Regions from separate parts of the Homo sapiens genome. Here region 2 is linked to region 1. Evidence: promoter capture Hi-C in 16 types of primary human blood cells and fetal thymus (Javierre and others, 2016). All regions are on one chromosome and are shown on one strand. Each heading gives the region's core, a stretch centred on a gene start or on the middle of the fragment in contact. The rest is flanking DNA. Distances are from core to core; before and after follow the strand shown. Region 1 holds the start of RMI2 (RecQ mediated genome instability 2). Region 2 overlaps CLEC16A (C-type lectin domain containing 16A).

Region 1 (5,853 bases), core at 2,197-4,696:
CAAAGATTATCCAGCCCCAGTGTCAGTAGGGCTGAGGTTGGGAAACTGTGGATTAGGGGCACCACCAAACTGGTCTGGAAGGAAGAGGTTAATTCCAGTGGTGGGGCTCAACAAAGGCTCTGTGAAGAGAAGAGGTCTTGCTGCTGAGCAGGCACTTGATGACTAAGCCAGGTTTCAACTGAGAGCGACTGAGGGGGAGGCATGTCAGGCAGAGAACAAACAACACAAGCAAAGGTCTAGAGGCACCTTTGATGGGTGGAGGTGGGTGAGAGTGTGAACAGTGAGATGGAGCCTGTAGTTCAAGATACATGAAGTTTGGGGTCAGGTGGATTTGGGTTTGAGTTCTGACTCTGCCACTCACTAGCCATGTGGCTTCAGGCTTGTCATTGGCTTGAACCTCAGTTTCATCATCTGTAAAATGGGGATAAGACATGAGGTTATGTAGAGCCAGACTCATCTATCCCCAGTCCTCCATTTCTACTCTGTGTCCCAGCCATCCTTAACTACTGGCAGTTTGCTACATGCTTCTTGCTTTGTCTCCCCTGTCTGGCCCCTCCATGTGCAGTTCCCTCTGCCTGGAATGCTCACATGCCAGATGTGTGGATTACACCATCAAGGTGTTATAAACCCGGTGCTGACATGCTAAGACTTGTGTTTTGAAAAGATCACTCTGCCAGCAACATGGTGTTGGGCTTGTGGGAGCAGGTGCAGGGAATCTGGAGGCCAAGGGAATGATGGGGGATTCCCAGGCTCATACAAGAAGCCTGGGGGCTTCTCCCTTCACGCTAACTCCCTTCTCCGTCACTTCTCTGTCCTTAAGGTACCTCGGGGGAAGGTCAGTGAGGACCCACCAGGCATGAACGGGTTGGATTCTCTCTTGGTTAATGTTCCTGCTCCTTTCTCAGCCTAGGAGCCTGGTTACTTCATAGGTCAGGGTTGAGGTGTTGTATTAGTCTGTTCTCACACTGCTATAAAGAACTGTCCAAGACTGGGTAATTTATAAAGGAAAGAGGTTTAATTAACTCCAGTTCCGCAGGGCTGGGAGGCCTCAGGAAACTTACAATCATGGCAGAAAGGGAAGCAAACGTCCTTCTTTATGTGGCAGCAGGAAGAAGTAGTGCCGAGCAAAGGGGGAAAAGCACCTTATAAAACCATCAGATCTTGTGAGAACTCACTCACTATCACGAGAACAGCATGGGAGTATCCGCCCCCATGATTCAATTACCTACCACGGGGTCCTTCCCACGATATGTGGGGATTATGGGAAGTACAATTCAACATGAGATTTGGGTGGGGACACAGCCAAACCATATTAGGTGTAGAGGCCAAAACCTCATAGAGGCTACTGAGAGTCTATGGGCCAGCCCTCTAGCTTCCTTAAGCCTCAGTTTCCTCACCTGTGTGGAACAGTCTTTTCAGGGTCTGTGGGGGTACATGGGATACTTCCTACAAAGTTCTTACAATAGGACCTGGCTCAATTTTATAAAAATGAAGCTCTTGGCCGGGTGCGGTGGCTGACGCCTGTAATCCCAGCACTTTGGGAGGCTGAGCGGGCAGATCACGAGGTCAGGAGTTTGAGACTAGCCTGGCCAGTATGACGAAACCCCGTCTCTACTAAAAAATACAAAAATTAGCCAGGCGGGTGGCGTGTACCTGTAGTCCCAGCTACTCAGGAGGCTGAGGCAGGAGAATCACTTGAACCTGGGAGGCGGAGGTTGCAGTGAGCTGAGATGGCACAACTGCACTCCTGCCTGGGTGACACAGCGAGACTCCGTCTCAAAAAAAAAAAAAAAAAAAAATCAAGCTCTTGCTGAATACTCTCTGAATGCCTGGTACTGCAGGAGGCCCTGGGAACTCAAAGTTTCTCTTAAGAACTGACCTTGACTTTAAGGATTGCCTGATTTAGGATCTGTGGACTTTGCTGACTGGGGACATCCAATTTTTAGGGAGAGATTCCTGGGAATTTTATTTGAAGGATGCACAAAAAGATTTAGCTTTTACGGGTGGATCACGAGGTCAGGAGATCGAGACCATCCTGGCTAACACGGTGAAACCTCGTCTCTACTAAAACAAAGTACAAAAAATTAGCTGGGCGTGGTGGCAGGCACCTGTAGTCTCAGCTACTCGGGAGGCTGAGGCAGGAGAATGGCGGGAACCTGGGAGGCGGAGCTTGTAGTGAGCCCAGATGGCGCCACTGCACTCCAGCCTGGGTGACAGAGTGAGACTCCGTCTCAAAAAAATAAATAAATAAATAAATAAAAAAGATTTATCTTTTAAGTAGGTCCACAGTGGATATATTTATAAAGTGAAAAATTGGAAATAGCCTTAATGTCCAACTGTAGGATATTGGTTTAATATGTGATAAGACAAATCGAGTATTATGCAGTCATTCAAGAGGAAGCAGATGGATATTTGCTGATACAGAAAGATGTTCATTATTAAGTGAAAACAATATACAAAACACTATTTGTATATCAGTAATAGGCCAGGCATGGTGGCTCACGCCTGTAATCCCAGCACTTTGGGAGGCCAAGGAGGCAGGATTGCGTGATCCCAGGAGTTCCAGACCACCTTGGGCAACATGGTAAGACCCTGTCTCTACAAAAAATACAAAAATTAGCTGGACGTGGTGGTGCACGCCTGTAGTCCGAGATACTTGGGAGGCTGAGGTAGGAGAATCACCTATGCCCGGGAGGTGAACGTTGTAGTGAGCCGTCACTGTGCCACTGCACTCCATCCTGGGCAACAGAGTGAGACCCTGTCTCAAAAAAAATACACACACATATTTTAAAGCCTAAAGGCTAATATACCCCAAAATTAACAGTGGGTATCTATAAGCGGCTTTTACAATTATTTTCTTGTTCTACATTTTTCCCCTATTTTTTTTACAATAAATGTGCATTTCTTGTCTGAAAAATAGCAATATATTTTATTAACCTTAAAATTATTTGATGCTATTAAAATATAACTGAAAATAATAATAAAAGAAAAGGCAAGTTTGCCAGCTCTCCCCGTCTCCCTCCCCAGCCTTATCTCCTGACTGGATTCTTGCTCACTCCCAATAAACACGGACTCTTAATTCGTTTCAGTATTTACTAACCTCAAAACAAGGCAATGTAAAGATGAATAATCATACTCTGTAGGTGATCTGCATCCACGCCAAATTTTGAGATGCGTTGAAAGAGGAAGTTCTTTACCTCTCTGCCTTCAATTATTTATTCTCGTTTAACCCATTTCCTCCGTTCATTCCTAACTTGAGGGCGTTTATTTACTTTTATCTACGCATGCGCACTCCTGGCTGCTAGAGAGGGCCTCTTCGCCCGGCGGTCCCGCCTTCTGACGTCGACCATTGGCCGGCTCTGCCAGCGCGCTCCTGATTGGTGGCTGAGGGCCGGGCCCCGCTGCTTCTCAAAGTTGGCGGGAAAGCGGAGGCGGGGCGGAAGGGTGCGGCGAGGCGGAATGGCGGCGGCTGCGGACTCGTTCTCAGGCGGCCCCGCGGGGGTGCGGCTTCCGAGGTCGCCGCCACTCAAGGTGCTGGCGGAGCAGCTGCGGCGCGACGCGGAGGGCGGCCCGGGCGCGTGGCGGCTGTCACGGGCGGCGGCGGGCCGCGGGCCGCTGGACCTGGCGGCCGTGTGGATGCAGGGCAGGGTAGTGATGGCGGACCGCGGCGAGGCTCGGCTGAGGGACCCGAGCGGGGACTTCTCGGTCCGCGGCCTGGAGCGGGTGCCGCGCGGGCGGCCCTGTCTAGTCCCAGGTAATGCCCGGGCCTTACCGGGCGCCCTCTTCCCTGCTGCCCGCCGAGAAGTTGCCGAGGCCAGATTCGATCTTGTTGTTGACACTCGAACGGGGGCGGGGCGGGTCTGGCCCTCCTCCGGGCCTCTGCCCCTGCGGGTCCCCGCTTGGGTACCCTTGCTCCGGTCCCTCCTTGGTGAAGTTGATCTGATGATAAGCATCACCTGCCGTCCCTTTTACAAATACAGATTCCTGGGACTCTCCCACCCCTAGTGGGAATCTTCTGGGGAGGGACTCCGGCACCTTCGTTTGTCACAAGCCCCCTCTCCCAGTTGATATCCTTGTTTTGGGAAATACTGTCCTGGGAAACTTCTGCTCATCCTTAACGTCTCAGCTCAAATGTGCCTTTCTCAGGGAAGTCCTCCCTAGCCCCTAGGAACGGGAGACCCTCCTGTACTTCTCCTTAATTGAACTGTCTTGGGCTGTAGCTCACTCATGTTTGCCTCCTCTCTTTTTTTTTTTTTTTTTTTTTTGAGACGGAGTCTCACTCTGTCGCCCAGGATGGGGTGCAGTGGCGCGACCTCAGCTTACTGCAGCCTCCACCTCCCGAATTCAAGCGATTCTCATGCTTCAGCCTCCCGAGTAGCTGGGATTACAGGCATGTGCCACCACACCCGGCTAATTTTTGTATTTTTTAGCAGAGACTGGGTTTTGCCATGTTGGCCAGGCTGGTCTCGAACTCCTGGCCTCAAGTGATCTGCTCATCTCGGCCTCCCAAAGTGCTGGGATTACAGACATGAGCCGCTGCGCCCTGCCTGCTTCCTCTCTTAAACCACTGATGCTCAAACTTGAGCCAGCATCAGTCTCTCCTGGAGGGCTTGGTAAAGCTGGGATGGCTGGGGCTCCACCCTCAGGGTTTGTGAGTCAGGAGGTCCAGGTGGGGCTGGAAATTTGCATTTCTAACCAGCTCCCAGGTGATGCTGATGCTGCTGGTCTGGGGACCATACTTTCGACTTTTTAAATGTTTTATTTATTTGAGATAGGGGACTCACCGTGTTGCCCAGGCTGGCCCTGAGCTCAAGCAATCCTCCTGCGTCAGCCTCCTTGGGTAGCTGGGACTACAGGCCTGTACCACCACGCCTGGTTTGGGGGCCATACTTTGAGAACCACTGGGCCAGCCCAAGCTACTGGAGGGCCAGAGCTGTGTGGTCCTGACAACTGTATCCTCAGCATCTGGCCCAGTTCCTGACACATAAGTGCTCCAAGAACCAATAGTCTTGAGTGATAGGCAATGGGCATCCATCTCACTTGTTCCCTGGGATGTCAGTTGAGCACGTGTTGTACATCAGCCCCTCATGTGCAGTGTTGGGCTGCAGCCGAGACCTAGATAGAGTCTGCTGGGAGACAGGCAGTGAGCAAGTGTCGCAGAGGATCGCTGATCTTTGGGGAGCCATGAGGATGTGCAAGGTGCTGAGTGGCCCGGGGAGGCTTCTAGAGGATGTGAGGTCTAAGCTGAGGAGCTCTGAGGCTCCATGGGCCTTCCCTCACCTCAGCTCCCTCTCCTGGGAAATCAGGCCAAGATCACTTCATTCCTAAGGGCCCTTCCTGCTCAGTCTTGGAGTCTAACTAGAGGCAGATAGGGCTGTGGTCTGGCCTGAGCTGCTGTGGACTCGGAAAGGCTTAGGTCGAATTTCTGGTTCCACCCCTTCCCAACTGAGCTGCCTGGAGCACTCTTGTTAACTTTTCTGGACTTGTACTATTTTGTAAAAAGGAGCTAATCATTCCTGCGTGTTGTGTGGATTCAATAAGTAAACAACTGCCTTAGTACTGCACCTGGCTCACAGTGAGGATGCAAAATATCAGGACTCGTTTACTGCCACATGCTCCTGTTCCGTCTTCCCACTGCCTTACCCATCAGCCTTCCCTCTGTCTGCCTGCCCTCAGCCGCAGCGTTGGTCTAGGACAGGGTCAGCAAACTACAGGCCTCCTCTTTTCATGTGTCCTGCGAACTAAAAATGCTTTTAAAATTTTTATGTATTACTATTATTATTTTTGAGACAGAATCTCGCTCTGTCTCTCAGGCTGGAGTACAGTGACGCAGTCATGGCTTGCTGCAACCTC
Region 2 (5,853 bases), core at 1,771-4,270, 290 kb before region 1:
TCACAGGGTGACAGGAGAGAGAATTAGTGCAAGGAGAAAAGATGCCAGATGCTTAGAAAACCATCAGATTTCATGAGAACTTACTCACTATCATGAGAACAGTATAAGGGAAACTGCTCCCATGATTCAGTTACCGGCACATGGTTCTGCCCTTGACACGTGGGGATTCTCATGTGTCTCACCATTCAAGGTGCGATTTGGGTGAGGACACAGAGCCAAACCATATCACTTGCTAATGAGGAAACTGAGTCAGAGAGGTCTAGTGATGTACCCAAGTCTGCCCGGCCGGTGAGTGGCAGAGCCACGCTTCTAGAGGAGGACAGCCCAGCCCCGCATCCCCCGTGCTTCTCCATGTATTATGTCCCTGCCTCCCTGTTTGCTGCTCCACTGGAATGTTTCAGCATGCAGCTCTCCCTCCAGTCTGTAGTGCCAGCACATGGGCTTCCTTCCTCCTCCCGCAGGCAGAATCGCGGGAAGCCATAGGTTCAGAAGATCCCAGCTTTCTCTGCTTTGCGCGTTTGTCTCTGTTATCCCAGCACCTGCCCTTGGCTAGGTACTCCATAAGTACGTGATAAGTGATCCTTCTTGTGGATATTACCCACCAAAGCATGTGTGATTTGGGAAGTTTATAATAAACCTAAGTGTTTTAAGTGTCAAAAAGAAAAAGGCAGCGTGCACTAATTGGCTCCTTGGCTTCGCAGCCCATTCCCTAGGAATCGGGACAGCTGGGCCCTCACCACGTCCTTTGTCACTGCATGTCTGAGGCTGCCGTGGAGCCTTTTCAGGGGAAAGGTGTAAATTGGCATAAGTCATCTCCAGAAACACCCCAGCAGCACCCTGTGCCAGGCCCCCGTGGGCTGCTCATCTACAGCCCCTCATCATTCCTCCAGCCCCTTCGAGAGAGGCTCAGTCTTCCACCCTTCAGACCATTCATTAGAGTGGAAGGGATTCAGTTGTCATTTGTTATTTCCTCTTACCCCCGAGACATCCCCCTGCAATGTCATTTCCTACAGTTTGGTTTCCTGTTTGGAAATGTCAGGCTTCTATGGCACTTGACCATGTGGGAAAGCTTGAGCTCTTAAACCCCTGCTCAGTGTCTGCTTTTGACAATGCAACCTTGAGTGCATTGCTGAAATTCTGAGCCTTGATTTTTTTCTTTTTTTTTTTCGAACAGAGTTTTGCTCTGTCGCCCAGGCTGGAGTGCAAGTAGTGCGTTCTCGGCTCACTGCAACCTCTGCCTCTTGGGTTCAAGCAATTCTCCTGCCTCAGCCTCCCGAGTAGCTGGGATTACAGGCGCCCACTACTACGCCCAGCTAATTTTTGTATTTTTAGTAGAGACGGGGTTTCACCATGCTGGCCAGGCTGGTCTCAAACCCCTGACCTCGTGATCCGCCCGCCTTGGCCTCCCAAAGTGGTGGAATTACAGGCGTGAGCCACCGCACCTGGCAATTTTTTTTTTTAAATCCGTAAGGTGGGGGATCCCTACCTCATAGCCACCCAGGCTGTATATGAAATAGCCAACAAGAGGCCTCATGGGTCCATACACAACAACAAATACTCATGGGTCTATACACAACAAATACTTCCTCCCCCTCCCACCATGGGGAGCTTCCCAGGTTTTTTTGTTTGTTTGTTTGTTTGTTTGTTTTAATCAAACATGTATTGTGTGTCCTATACAATGCCTGGCATTCCAGAGAAATACAAAGGTGCCACGCCCTTGCTCTGTATCTGAAAATCAGTCCTCAGCCTTCAGGAATGCAGCTTCTGAGTGGAAGGGGGTGGGGACAGGCCCTCCAAGGCCAGCTGCTGTACCAAAGTCAGACCATGACTTGTGACCTTTCCTTCATTTCCCTTATTGCCTCTGGTTTAATGCAAAAGGTTCAGTGAGGTGATGGCCTAGCTCTGCCCCCAGCAGGCCTGAGGGGTTCACTGGGAAGGTTGTAGGGGGCAGCAGGAGTAGAGGGGAAGGGAGCTGCAAGTGAATGAGTGAGGCAGGAACTGCCACCCCTGCGGGGTTAGAGGATTTGGAGTGGGGGACCTCAGGCTTCTGGAGGAAAGTACTTAAAGTGTCCAAAAGAAGAAGGCAAGCAGCATGCACCAAGTGGCTCCTTGGCCCTCTGGCCCATTCACCGGGTGTCTCAGTATGTTTTCTGCAGCTATAACAGAATACCACAGACTTAATTTATAAAAAAAAGAAATTTCTTACAGTTCTAGAGGCTGGGAAGTCCAATATCAGGTGCCAGCATTTGGCGACGGCCTTCTTGCCACATCATCCCATGGTAGAATGCGAAAGGGCAAGACAGAGCAAGAGGGAACAGAACTCACTCTTATAACAAAGTCACTCTCACCATCATTGAGCCACACCTGCAATAACAACATTACTCCATTCATGAGACCCAATCCCGTCTTGTTAGGCCCTACCTCTCAGCACTGTCACACTGGGGATTAAGTTTCCAACACATGAACTATGGGGGACACGTTCAAACCATAGCACCAGGTATCTGGGCCACTGAGCCCTCGCTACATCCCTGCCCTATGTAGTCAGCTTTACCTAGCAGGAGGGGGAAAGTGGTATGTTTGAAGCCCACTTTCTGAAAAGAGAAGACACAAGGAAAGCTTGTGATGTTTGAAAGAGTAAAATGAATTCTGCAGAAAGCTTACCCTTCGTCTGTGAAGCCAGGGAAATGAAATGTTAGTGTTCAACAACACGTGTGCATTGATTACTACTACTGATGCAGCAGAGATCTGGGAGAGGTGGCAGGGAGGGGATGTCACCCTGTGTCTTAGTCCTCAAAGAAGGCTTCGCAGAGGTGGTGTGGAAAGAGGCCGTCAGCTCTGGCCCAGTGGCCGTGGGCATGCGCCTTTCCTCCTCTGAGCTCAGTGTCCCTTTTATGATGGGCCCACCAGCACCTGCCGTCCAGCAGGAGGTGATCCCAGCACGTGCCTGGCACTTAGTAGATGCTCCAATAATGATTGTGTTATATTATCCCAGGTAAGATGTGAAGGGGACAAGGAAGGAAGGGGAAACATTGGTCCTAGGGTGGGAATCACAGAGGCCCTGGAGCAAGACAGGCCTGGGCTCATGTCTTGGCTCTGCCACCCACCAGCTGAGCGACCTTGGATCCATTTTTCTGCTTCTCTGAGACTGTGTTCCCTCATCAGCAAAGTGGGAAGCAGCTCCTCAAAAGCCCTTAGGTCACAGCTTGCAGCGGAATCAGCTCTCGTTAAACGGAAGCTGCCATCGCCATAGCTGTTATCATCACTGGAAGGACAGAGAGGAGGAAGCAGGTGGCAGACGGGCTTGCACCCACAGGGATAAAGCATACCTGGCCTCCTGCTGAGAATCCCTGTCCCTGCTGAGGTGGAGAGAGAATGCGAAGAGGAGCAAGCTTTTCACAGCAAGGATGCAACTTCTCAAGAGTCTGAGCTGCTGCTTCAATTAAAGGAAAAATCTGCAATTTAGAAAACCAAAAGGCATATTGCTCCCTTATCTGGCTGCCTCTGTGCTTTACTTCAATCTAAATCCAGGATTTAGATCACTCATTTACATTTACTAAATGCGGTTGAAGGCGAGGGGCCTGTGCAACCTCCCCCGGCCCCTTCCTCCTTCCAAGTAAGGAATCTGCTTTGAGGTTTCCTGTAATGTCTCTTCTAGATGAAGCCCATGAACGTGGAATATCTCATGATGGACGCCTCCATCCTGCTGCCCCCAACAGGCACGCCACTGACGGGCATTGACTTCGTGAAGCGGCTGCCGTGTGGCGATGTGGAGAAGACCCGGCGGGTGAGTGAGCACAGGACCTGTCATCTCCTGGGCCACTGTTCTCCAGAACCACTCCCAGACCAGGGAGGAAAGGGCTTCTTTGTCAAAGTCAAGAGCCTGCCCTCAACACAGCTTAGACAGTGGATAGAGAGTACCCATTTGCCCCCAGGCATGACTTTCCAAGGCATGTTTTTACCCTTTGGGAAGTAGGGTTTGGCATTCCGTTGCATCTGGCACCCAGTGTTGGCTGCAGAGAGGTAGCCTTCACCAGTGCAGACAGACAAGCCCTGAGCTCAGGAGTGTAAGGCAATGGGGCCAGTTTTCTGTGAACCATCGGGGGTGAGCACGGTACATCCAGTGCAGGTGAGGTTGGTGTGAAATCGTAGCCCAGCGGTCTCAGGACCCCCAGAGATAGTGCGATGTTAAGGCATCTACCTGCTCTTGGGACACAGTCAAATTAAATGTGAATCTCACCAGCCTGCAGGACAGATATGTGTGAAAAGATTAGTTCTCAGAACCAGCTGCAGTGTGTGCTTCCGTTATCAGCCCTTTTTTTCCGAAGCAGGTACTCTAGGAAGCAGTGTCCTCAGGGGTGTTCATGGTATTTTATCTCCCGGGTAAGATCAGAGTTTCTTTCTTAGAAAGCACCATCACCTTTTCCTAGAAAATCATTCACTGGAGACATGAGTATTTGTGTATAGTTCAGAGGAATTCATTGCACACAGCTCCCCTTGTCAGCCTTTATCATCTGAGTTAATTCGTGTGTGACAGAGGTGTTTCACTTTTGGATTTTGCAAAACAGGAATGACCTGTCATTTGCACCTCAGACACGAGGAGTCTGAACCTTCCTCCCTGCAGCTGGTGGTTCTACCTCGGAAGCCTGGGGGTGCAGAGGAAGTGGGACCCATGTGTCTTGAGTCAATCCACATTTCCAACTGTCTGACCAAACCCACAAGCCTCACCGCAGGACCCACCCTGTCCGGCCCACTGACGCCTTCCTTCCATGTCCTCCCTGCCAGGCACACGATTCTGTTTGTGGGTGGCAGTGTTTGCACTGGACGTCCTGGCATCAGCTTTCACTGGAGGACTGGTTCTGACAGATGTGTATGTGTTGCTTCATGATGCTGACGTGCTCACCCCCAGCCAGGGCTACAGCATCCTGTGCCAAGAAGGCCCCACCTGGGAGATCCCCCCGCACCCCTGAGCCAGAAGGTCCAGAGGACTGAACGCTGAGCACTGCTGCTCTGGATTCCACTTTGCCTTTTTGTTGTTGTTGTTGTTGTTGTTGTTTTGGAGGCTGCAGTGAGCTGTGATCCATCCTGGAGTGCAGTGTTGCGATCATAGCTCACTGCAGCCTCAAACTCCTGGGCTCCAGCCATCCTCCCACCTCAGCGTCGGTAGCTGGAACTACAGGCACAAGCTACCACACCTAGCTAATTTTTAGATGTTTTATAGAGATGAAGTCTTGCTAAGTTACCCAAGTTAGCCTTGAACTCCTGGCCTCAAGCCATCCTCCTGCCTTGGCCTCCCAAAGTGCTGAAATTACAGACATGTACCACCACACCCAGCCCACACTCTACCTTCTTTTGGTTCACAGTTCATCAGGGTTTTTCTTACCACTTCTATGAACACATAGCCTCTGTTATGAAGTAGATCAATTCAAATCAGTTCTTTATGTGAATTTCCTCATTAAATTCTATAACCATCCTAGGAGATTGGCACTATTATTATCCCCATTTTACAGAGGAAGAATTTTTTTTTTTTTTAGACAGGGTCCTGCTCTGTCACCCAGGTTGGAGTGCAGTGGTGCCATCTTGGCTCACTGCAACACACTCTGCCCCCTGGGGTCAAGCAATCCTCCCACCTCAGCCTCCTGGGTAGCTGGGATTACAGGTGTGTGCCACCACACTCGGCTAATTTTTGTATTTTTTGTAGAAATGGGGTTTTGCCATGTTACCCAGGCTGGTCTTGAACTCCTGGACCCAAGCGATCCGCCCACCTCGGCCTCTCAAAGTGCTAGGATTACAGATGTGAACCACCACGCCCTGTCCACAGGGGAAGAAATTGATGCATGGAGAGGTCTGGTGATT

What was found. Contacts are between HindIII fragments. The CHiCAGO score rates a contact against its expected background, and 5 or more counts as called.
Region 2: a contact is called between a fragment that was not itself captured here and the fragment with the promoter of RMI2 in region 1, in 6 of 17 cell types (activated CD4 T cells, naive CD8 T cells, fetal thymus and 3 more). The highest score is 17.2, in activated CD4 T cells.

Annotation. Positions count from the first base shown.
Region 1 is chr16:11,342,013-11,347,865 of GRCh38, forward strand. RMI2 (RecQ mediated genome instability 2) reads left to right here and starts at 3,447. Exons shown (of 2, transcript NM_152308.3): 1 at 3,447-3,754. The coding sequence starts at 3,460. All of the region lies in intron 1 of LOC105371082 (a long non-coding RNA gene), which reads left to right. LOC105371083 (a long non-coding RNA gene) reads right to left here and starts at 3,200. Exons shown (of 2, transcript NR_135174.1): 1 at 3,101-3,200; 2 at 1-411. RefSeq lists silencers at 3,516-3,675, 3,696-3,775. The HindIII fragment of the contact is 15,776 bases long and covers 1-5,853 here.
Region 2 is chr16:11,047,858-11,053,710 of GRCh38, forward strand. CLEC16A (C-type lectin domain containing 16A) reads left to right here. Exons shown (of 24, transcript NM_015226.3): 18 at 3,656-3,784. Among named protein-coding and RNA genes, the nearest start is that of CLEC16A, 110 kb to the left of the region's middle. RefSeq lists enhancers at 2,475-3,051, 3,052-3,629, 4,642-4,791. The HindIII fragment of the contact is 733 bases long and covers 2,655-3,387 here.